Linked DNA regions of Homo sapiens: region 2 is linked to region 1. Evidence: promoter capture Hi-C in human tissues and cell types (Jung and others, 2019). All regions are on one chromosome and are shown on one strand. Each heading gives the region's core, a stretch centred on a gene start or on the middle of the fragment in contact. The rest is flanking DNA. Distances are from core to core; before and after follow the strand shown.

Region 1 (3,950 bases), core at 457-2,956:
ATCCAACAGTGGCTGATAACATTTTCTGTTCTCTGATAACCCCCTTGCTACTAGAGCAGCTGAAGATGACTCCAAATGCATGAATCTGTTCATCTGTTCACATGCTAAAAGAAAAAGGCCTGGCAGTTCATGATTAAAGAGGCACGAAAGTCCCCAGATCACAAATGCCCTTTCAAAAATTTTCCACATTTGTTCTAGTTTCAAGCCATGATAAAGAGTTTCCAATCAAATGCATCAGCTAAAATGAATCCATTTTCTGAAACAGAAGTGGCTAGTTTGGGTCCAGCACTTATAACGAAAGGTTCCTGGTGTCACAGACCATGAAATAAGACTGTTTGAAGTTGTTCCCATGGAGAATCCCAGAGGACTTTAAAACTTCTGAGCAGGAAGATCCTTGACCCTTGCCCAACTCCTTTCCACTTAACAGCGATGCAACTGAGCTGAAGAGACTTGTCCAAAGCCACTGAGCAGGTTAGTTAGTGGCAGGGCTAAAATCTGTAATGAGGGGTTGGTCATGCGCAGGTTGCAAACAGCCTTGTCCAAGGATTCACACTTGGAGTAGATACATTGCACCCTCACTTTTGACTAGGCCTAACTTCTGGTACAAACCTGTGGAGTCAAAATCTGATTTTAAATATTGTAAAAAACAAAAACAAACAACCTCTCATTTTTCAGATCTCTCAATGAAAACTTTAGGGCCAAATCAAGAAATCATAAGGCTATCATAGGCCCTTACATAAAAATGGCCTTAAAATATACACACAACCTCCTTTTCATAGAAGACAGAGAGCCAGAGAGATAGAAATACAGAAAGAGAGGGAGAAAGAATACTTTGCCCCTGACATATACACACAAAAGTACTTGGCTTACTGTAAGCAAAAAGCAAAAAAAAAAAAAAAAAAAAACAAAACAAAAACCCTCAAACTCCTTTGTCTTAAGGGCAGAGAGAAAGGTGACAAAATTTGAAATAAAGTGAGCCACTGAAGACAGGAATGGGCAAACTCCAGCTAGCCTGGAACTATCCCGGTTTCCTCTGTGAACCAGCCTAGGGGCTTCCCCTCGGTCCGCCCCTGCACGGAAGGACGTGCGTGACACTGGGCTGCGTCATTGGCAGAACTGCCCGCGCCCAGAAAACGAGCTGGAGTGGAGAACAGAATGCAATTGCAGACAATCTTCCTCTGGTTCCCTGGGGAGGCCTGCTCTGGGCAGAGAGATCCCAGGGGACTGTGCGGGAAGGAGCTAAAGCAATAGCCCAAAAGCGCCAGGGAATGCACTTGAAGTTTCAGACGTTTTTCTTTTCTTTGAAACTAAGTTTCCAGCCCACCAGGAAAAACTGCCTCGCGACCTAGTGATTTTAATCTCACGCTTGGCCGCAAGCCGCTGCCTCGAGACTGGAAACCGGCCGCGAGGCGCTCTATCCCCCTGACCCCCTCCCCCCGCGCTCACCTGCGATATCCCAGAGCTGCAGGCGCACCACAGTCTCCGGGTCCCAGTGGAGCACCTTGAGCGCGAAGTCCACGCCGATTGTGGCCCGGTAGTGCGAAGAGAAGTTCTGGTGCACGTAGCGCTTGATGATACTGGTCTTCCCCACGCCCAGGTCGCCAATCACCAGCAACTTGTACAGGTGCTCCTTGTGCGGGGCCTGCATCCTGGCGGCCGGCCAGACGTGCCGTGCCTGACCAGGGAAGCGCAGCCTGGGCTCTGCGCACGAGAGAGACTTGGGGAGCGCAAGTGTAGGTGCAGAGAGAGGCGTGGGCGGCGGGGCGGGGGCTGGGGGGCGGAACTCCTCCCCTAGGGGTTAATCCTCCTTCCTACTCCGCGGTCTTGGAGAGGGGAGGAGACAGGAGCGAGTCCCGGGACTGGCAGCTGAAAGGGGTTCGCGTGTGGTTGCCTGTTGCAGCGCTTATTTATCCGGCGCTTTAGAGTTTCCGAAGAGCTGTTTTCACCTGTGACCCTGGCCACAAACTTGTGAGGTGTGGATCTTATTTTCCACGTTTTGCTTGCGAGAAAACTGATTGTGAAAAAGTACTCTGCGGGAGATGGCCGGTGAAAGGCCCCGTTGACCACAGGTCTGAAGTCACAGGCTCTTAACTACCCCACACTGTAGAGAGAAATTACAGTATTAGGAAGCCCAAGACTGGCTGGGCTTGGTTCCTGCGTGCCCTGGTTTTTAAGTTGAGGGACCATAAGTAAGTCATTTGAGCTCTCACAGCCTGTTATTTCTCAATGAATGGCAATGCTGACCTCTGAGCAGCTTGGAGGTGGGAACACTGAGCACTTTCACACCCATTCAACTGGTAATCAGTTAACAAGGAGGACAACTGGGCCGAAAATGCCAAGGGCACTGGTGACTTTTAGCCTCTTCCCATATCCTAAAAACTCAGAGCTGCACAGAAAGACAGTTTTAACAATCGGTCAGATTATTACAAATAATAATAATGGCAAACATTTATTGAGCACTCGCTATATGCCAGAGGGTTTATAAATTATGTCATTTAGTCATCCCAGCTGTCTTAATAATAGATACCATTTTTCTTCCTATTTTACAAATGAGGAAGCTAAGGACCAGACATTTTAAGTAATGGACCCAGAGTCAAATAGTAAGGAAAAAAACCAAATTCAAACATAGGTCTTTAGGTTCCCAACTTCTTTTTGTTGTTTTTGTTGTTTGTTTTCATTCATTTGACCAATATACATTTTATTACCAATTAATATATGACAAATTGTACTTATTTTGTCTTGTCTGTCTCCACCTACAAGAAGGTAAATTTTTTTGAGGCCAGTAGGCATTGTCTGCGTTAGGATTTCTGTATCATCCTCCTAACGCAGACAATGCCTACTGGCCTAAGAAAAATTTACCTTCTTGTGGGTGGAGACAGGACAAGACAAAATAAATACAATTTGTCATATATTAATTGGTAATAAAATAAGGCAGAAAGGGGATGTGAAGAGATTATATGGGGTTTGCCTTTTAGATAGGGTGGCCAGGGAAGGTTTCAGTAAGATGGAGACAATTTAGTAAAGACATAAAGAAAATGAGAAATTGGGCATTCAGGGCTAGGGGGTGAGCAGTTTATACCAAAATGAGCTATTTTGTACCTGAATGTGCTGTGAAGGAGCTCTGCTCACATTCTATCATTTCATCTTCTCAATTGCTTTATGAAGTGGGTTATTTTCTTCAATTTATAAATAAGGAAACCAAGATTAACAGCAGCTTTCTCAAGGGCACACATAACTAGTATGTGTTAGAACTAGGACTTAAACACAGGCCTGTGTGAAAGGGAGAAAGGAGGTTTGGCAAGGCCATTGTCTTTCTGCCTTCCTCTTCTGGCCTGACACTCCCTAAACTTTAGCCTCCACATGCCCCAAACAAGCAGAGGGATGCTGAAGATGTGTACCCGGGACAAGTCACATAACCTCTGAGCCTTGGTTTCCACATCAACGAAAGGAGAATGATAATACCTATGGCAGGGCATGGTTGCTCATGATTGTAATCCAAGCACTTTGGGAGGCTGAGGTGGGTGAATCACTTGAGGTCAGGAGTTCAAGACCAGCCTGGCCAACATGGTGAAACCCGTCTCTACTAAAAATACAAAAATTAGCCGGGCGTGGTGGCAGGTGACTATAATCCCAGCTACTTGAGAGGCTGAGACAGGAGACTATCTTGAACCAGGGATGCAGAGGTTGCAGTGAGCCAAGATCACACCATTGCTCTCCAGCCTGGGTAACCTGAGCAAGACTCTATCTCTAAATAAATAAATAAATAAATAAATAAATAAATACAAATGAAATTGTTGATAAAATGCTGGGTCCATAGTAGGTGGTAAATAAATTGTAGCTATTACTATGAAATGAGGGACAAGCTTAAAATACTGTCCACAGGCACTGTCCTGTGCAGTTTCATCTTTCCTCAGAGAGTAACTCAGAAGTTTTGCTCAGAATGGACACTA
Region 2 (3,950 bases), core at 365-2,864, 260 kb after region 1:
CTTCAAAATGTCAGTAGCTGGGCTTATATCCCCTGATAGAAGTTTAAAGGATTCTCCTCTGGAGGAAAAGTGAAAGAAACACAACTGATTCAGAGAAGGGGCCTACATATACTGAAATTTGGAGAAGTGTAAAAAAAGTCTAAAATACTTCCTGGTCAGTTTAGAGTGATATATACCAATTAAGAAGCCCTGAATATATGCACAGAACTTTCAATAAGCTCTTTAGGGTCTCACTTTTAAATATGAATAAGAAACAATCACTGAATATTGTGGGACATACCTAAAATGAAAGACAGAAATAAAGCAAACAGAAACGAAAGAGGAACTTAGAAAAATTACGGACAACCCAATAAGTAGAAGAAAATATGAAAGAAATTATAATTAATAGCCACAGAGATAAGGGAAGATATTGTATTGGTGAGATGTAATCCAAGTGCTTTAAAAAACAATCAGAAAGCAAGAAAATTATCAGAAAATAAAATATGGTATTCAAAATTTTTAAAAATGTAAAATGTTTAGAATATAAAGTCAATGAAATCATCCACAAAGTACAGCAAAAAAGGCAGAGATAAAAATGGAAGAAATAGGCCAGGTGCGTTGGCTCACGCCTGTAATCCCAGCACTTTGGGAGGCCGAGGAGGGCAGATCATGAGGTGAGGAGATCAAGACCATCCTGGCTGACACGGTGAAACCTGGCCTCTACTAAAAAATACAAAAAATTAGCCAGGCATGGTGGCAGGTGCCTGTAGTCCCAGCTACTTGGGAGGCTGAGGCAGGAGAATGGCGTGAACCGGGGAGGCGGAGCTTGCATTGAGCTGAGATAGCACCCCTGCACTCCAGCTTGGGTGACAGAGCGAGACAATGTCTCAAAACAAACAAACAAATAAAATAAAATAAAATTTAGGGCATTACTTTAGAAGGTGTTGTTTAGCCAAAGGATTTTGGGAACAAAAGGAGCAGGAAATGGAAGGAAGGAAATTGTCAAAGAAATGATAAAAGAAAAATTCTTAGGAGTTTCCTGGTGGAAAAGGCCCACTGAGAATTCACCCAAAGAAATAATCATAAATTTACAATGATAAAGGTTCATTTTAAATTGATCTAGGTAGTAAAAAACAGTATATATAAAGATTAAGATGTATAAAATTTAAGATTCTTTATGTTAAGAATAAAAAATTGTAGATAAATGCATTAATTTTTTATTATGTACTAATCTAAATTTTGAGACGAAATTTTTTTTTCAGTGTAGAATCATAGCCCAGCTCACTAATCAATCAGGTATAAGGTAAATTTAAAATAGTTTCAGCCATATAAAATATTTGTCTGCATGTAGGTCTTCTCAGGAAGCTGCTAGATATGTGCACCACCAAAAAAAAAAAAAAAAAAAGGGAGTAAACCAAGACAGGACAACATCAAATTGAGGAAGCAGGGAACCAAACACAGGAACCAAGTGAGGAGAATTCCCAGAATGATGACAGAACTTCCAGGTCTTCCACCATGCAGCACAACTTATGTAGACCAGCATCCAGAGCAAAGTACAGGACAGGAAATCTCAGCAAAGTCTCTGAGGGGGAAATGGAATTGGCAGGTGTTCTGTGTATAAAATTGTGTATAGTTGTCAAAAAAGTAGGGCCAAGGCGTAGCTATATATTTACTCTAAACGAATGGGACAAAGAGGAGGTTTTAACACCAGTGTAAGTAGGAATTTATTCAAGAAAATAAATGTAGTGATAATAGGCTACCTGTTTCATCAGTGAATAATATTTATAATACCATAATTATACAAATACTAAACACAGATTTAACCAATACTTGTCATAATAACTATAATGGGGGAAGAGAGGGATGAAGGGAAAGGGAGAATAAAAAAAAGTTAAAATCCTCATTTTCTATAATAGGAAGTCAATTAAGAATGTTTAAATATGATCACACAGAAGATAACAGTAAATATGTATTTTAAATTTTTTTGCTTTGTAGTAATGTATAGGAGATTGAAAAAAAAAATGTCGAAGAAATCTCATGTACCTTTCACCTAGTTTTATAAGAAACTGCCTTATTCTTCCAGACTGGTCGTACCAGTTTATATTCCCACCAGCATTGTACGAATGATCCAGTTTTTCTGCATCATCAGGATTTCTTGTTATCACAAGTTTTCATTTTAGTCATTCTGATAGATGTCTGGTGGTTTCTCACTGCAGTTTTAATTTGTCTTCTTTTAATGGCTAAAGATACTGAACATCTTTTTATATGCTTATTACCATCTATTCATGTCTATTGCTCATTTTCTAGTTGAATTCTGTAATTTTTTACTGTTGTGTTTTGAGAGTTCTTTACGTATTCTAGATACTATTCCTTTGTTGGATATATGGTTTCTAAGTGTCTTCTCTCAGCCTGGATCTTACTGTCTTTTTATCTCCTTCACAGGGTCTTCTGCGGAGAAAAAGTTTTTACTTAAAAAAAAAAAGAGATCAGTTTTACATTTTATGGAGCATGGTTTTGTGTTAAGAATAGGAACTCTTTATATCGTTTTAGGTCCTGAAGATTTTTGCATATGTTTTCTTCTTTTCTTTCTTATTTAAATTGACGTGTATTTTTCCCCCCAATCTGTATGTCTAATTAATCTGGCACGATTATTTTGAAGACTATAATTGCTCCATCAAATTAGCTCTTGGACCTTTGTCAAAAATCAGTTGATGATATTTGTGTGGGGCTCTTTCTGAGCTCTTTGTTGTGTTCTATTGAATTACGTGCCTATCCCTCTGCCAAAACTACATTGTCTTCATGGCTGTAGTTGTGTAATAAGTTTTAACATTAGGTAGGGGGATTGCTATCACTTTATTCTTCTTTTTCAAAATTGTTTTAGCTATTCTAGGTCCTTTAACTTCTGTATATGTTTTATAATAATTTTGTCTATATTCACAAAAGTTCTTAGTGGGATTTTAATAGAAAGTTTGTTAAACCTATAGATCAATTTGGGGAGAATTCATATCTTTACTGTTTTCGGTCTTTCGATGCATAAATGTAGTATGTCTCTTCATTAGTTTAGGTCATCTTTTATTTATTTTATTAGTATTTTATAATTTTTATCATATAGATATTGTACAAGGTTTTTATATTTATACCCAAGTACTTTGTTTTCTTTGGAACATTTGTAAATGCCATTTTGTTTTTAATTTTGCTAGTATGTAGAAATGCAATTAACTTTTGTGTGTTGATTTTGTATCCTGCAACCTTGGTGAACTCGCTCATTATTTTTAATATTTTTTTGGTAGATTGCTTGGGATTTGCTATGTAGACAATCATGTCTTCTGTGAATAAGGATAGTACTACTTGTTCTTTTTCAATTTATATGCTATTTATTCATTTCTCTTAACATATTATGCTGGGTAGAATTTCTAATACTATTAATATGTTAAATAAGAGTGGTGAACACTTTTTTTTGGTTTTTGTTTCTTCCAGTTTTAAAATGTTTTTTTAATATCATTTCTTTGGTAATATTTCTATTTTTAATTGTTATAGGACTATTTGTAATGTTCTTATTTTTGTTATATGTGCTTTAATATCTGTGTTAAATAATTTCAACATCAGATTCATCTCTATGTCTTTTGATTGTCTTTTTGTGTTCAAGTTGAGATTTTCCTCAACTTAGCATAGGACCTTTTATCCCAGCAGAAACCTAATATACATTTGCAGAATTGAATTTACTTAAATTGAATTCTTTTTTTTACAGCAAAATGTTTTTCTCATCCCAGAAAGACAATAGAGCAATGAAAAACCTATCAACTTTAGGAATTTTGATATTCATGTCTTTCCAAATGCTTTCTCTCCCCAAATCCAGCTTTCTAGATATGCAGCTTCTCATCCAAAGGAAAGTGTTGGTGTGATGTAAGCAGTGCCAGATCCAACTCCAGCTCTCTTTACTGTTTATACCCCCCTACCCCACCAATGGAAAA

The links. Contacts are between HindIII fragments. The study calls those that stand out against the background at their distance.
Region 2: a contact is called between a fragment that was not itself captured here and the fragment with the promoter of RAB38 in region 1, in 2 of the 25 tissues and cell types used here (lymphoblastoid cells and mesenchymal stem cells).

What each region holds. Positions count from the first base shown.
Region 1 is chr11:88,173,737-88,177,686 of GRCh38, forward strand. It overlaps RAB38 (RAB38, member RAS oncogene family), which reads right to left and starts at 1,707. Exons shown (of 3, transcript NM_022337.3): 1 at 1,447-1,707. The coding sequence starts at 1,648. MIR3166 (microRNA 3166) reads left to right here and starts at 2,766; the gene lies at 2,766-2,857. The HindIII fragment of the contact is 10,731 bases long and covers 1-3,950 here.
Region 2 is chr11:88,437,461-88,441,410 of GRCh38, forward strand. No RefSeq gene overlaps it. Among named protein-coding and RNA genes, the nearest start is that of GRM5-AS1, 65 kb to the right of the region's middle. The HindIII fragment of the contact is 9,638 bases long and covers 1-3,950 here.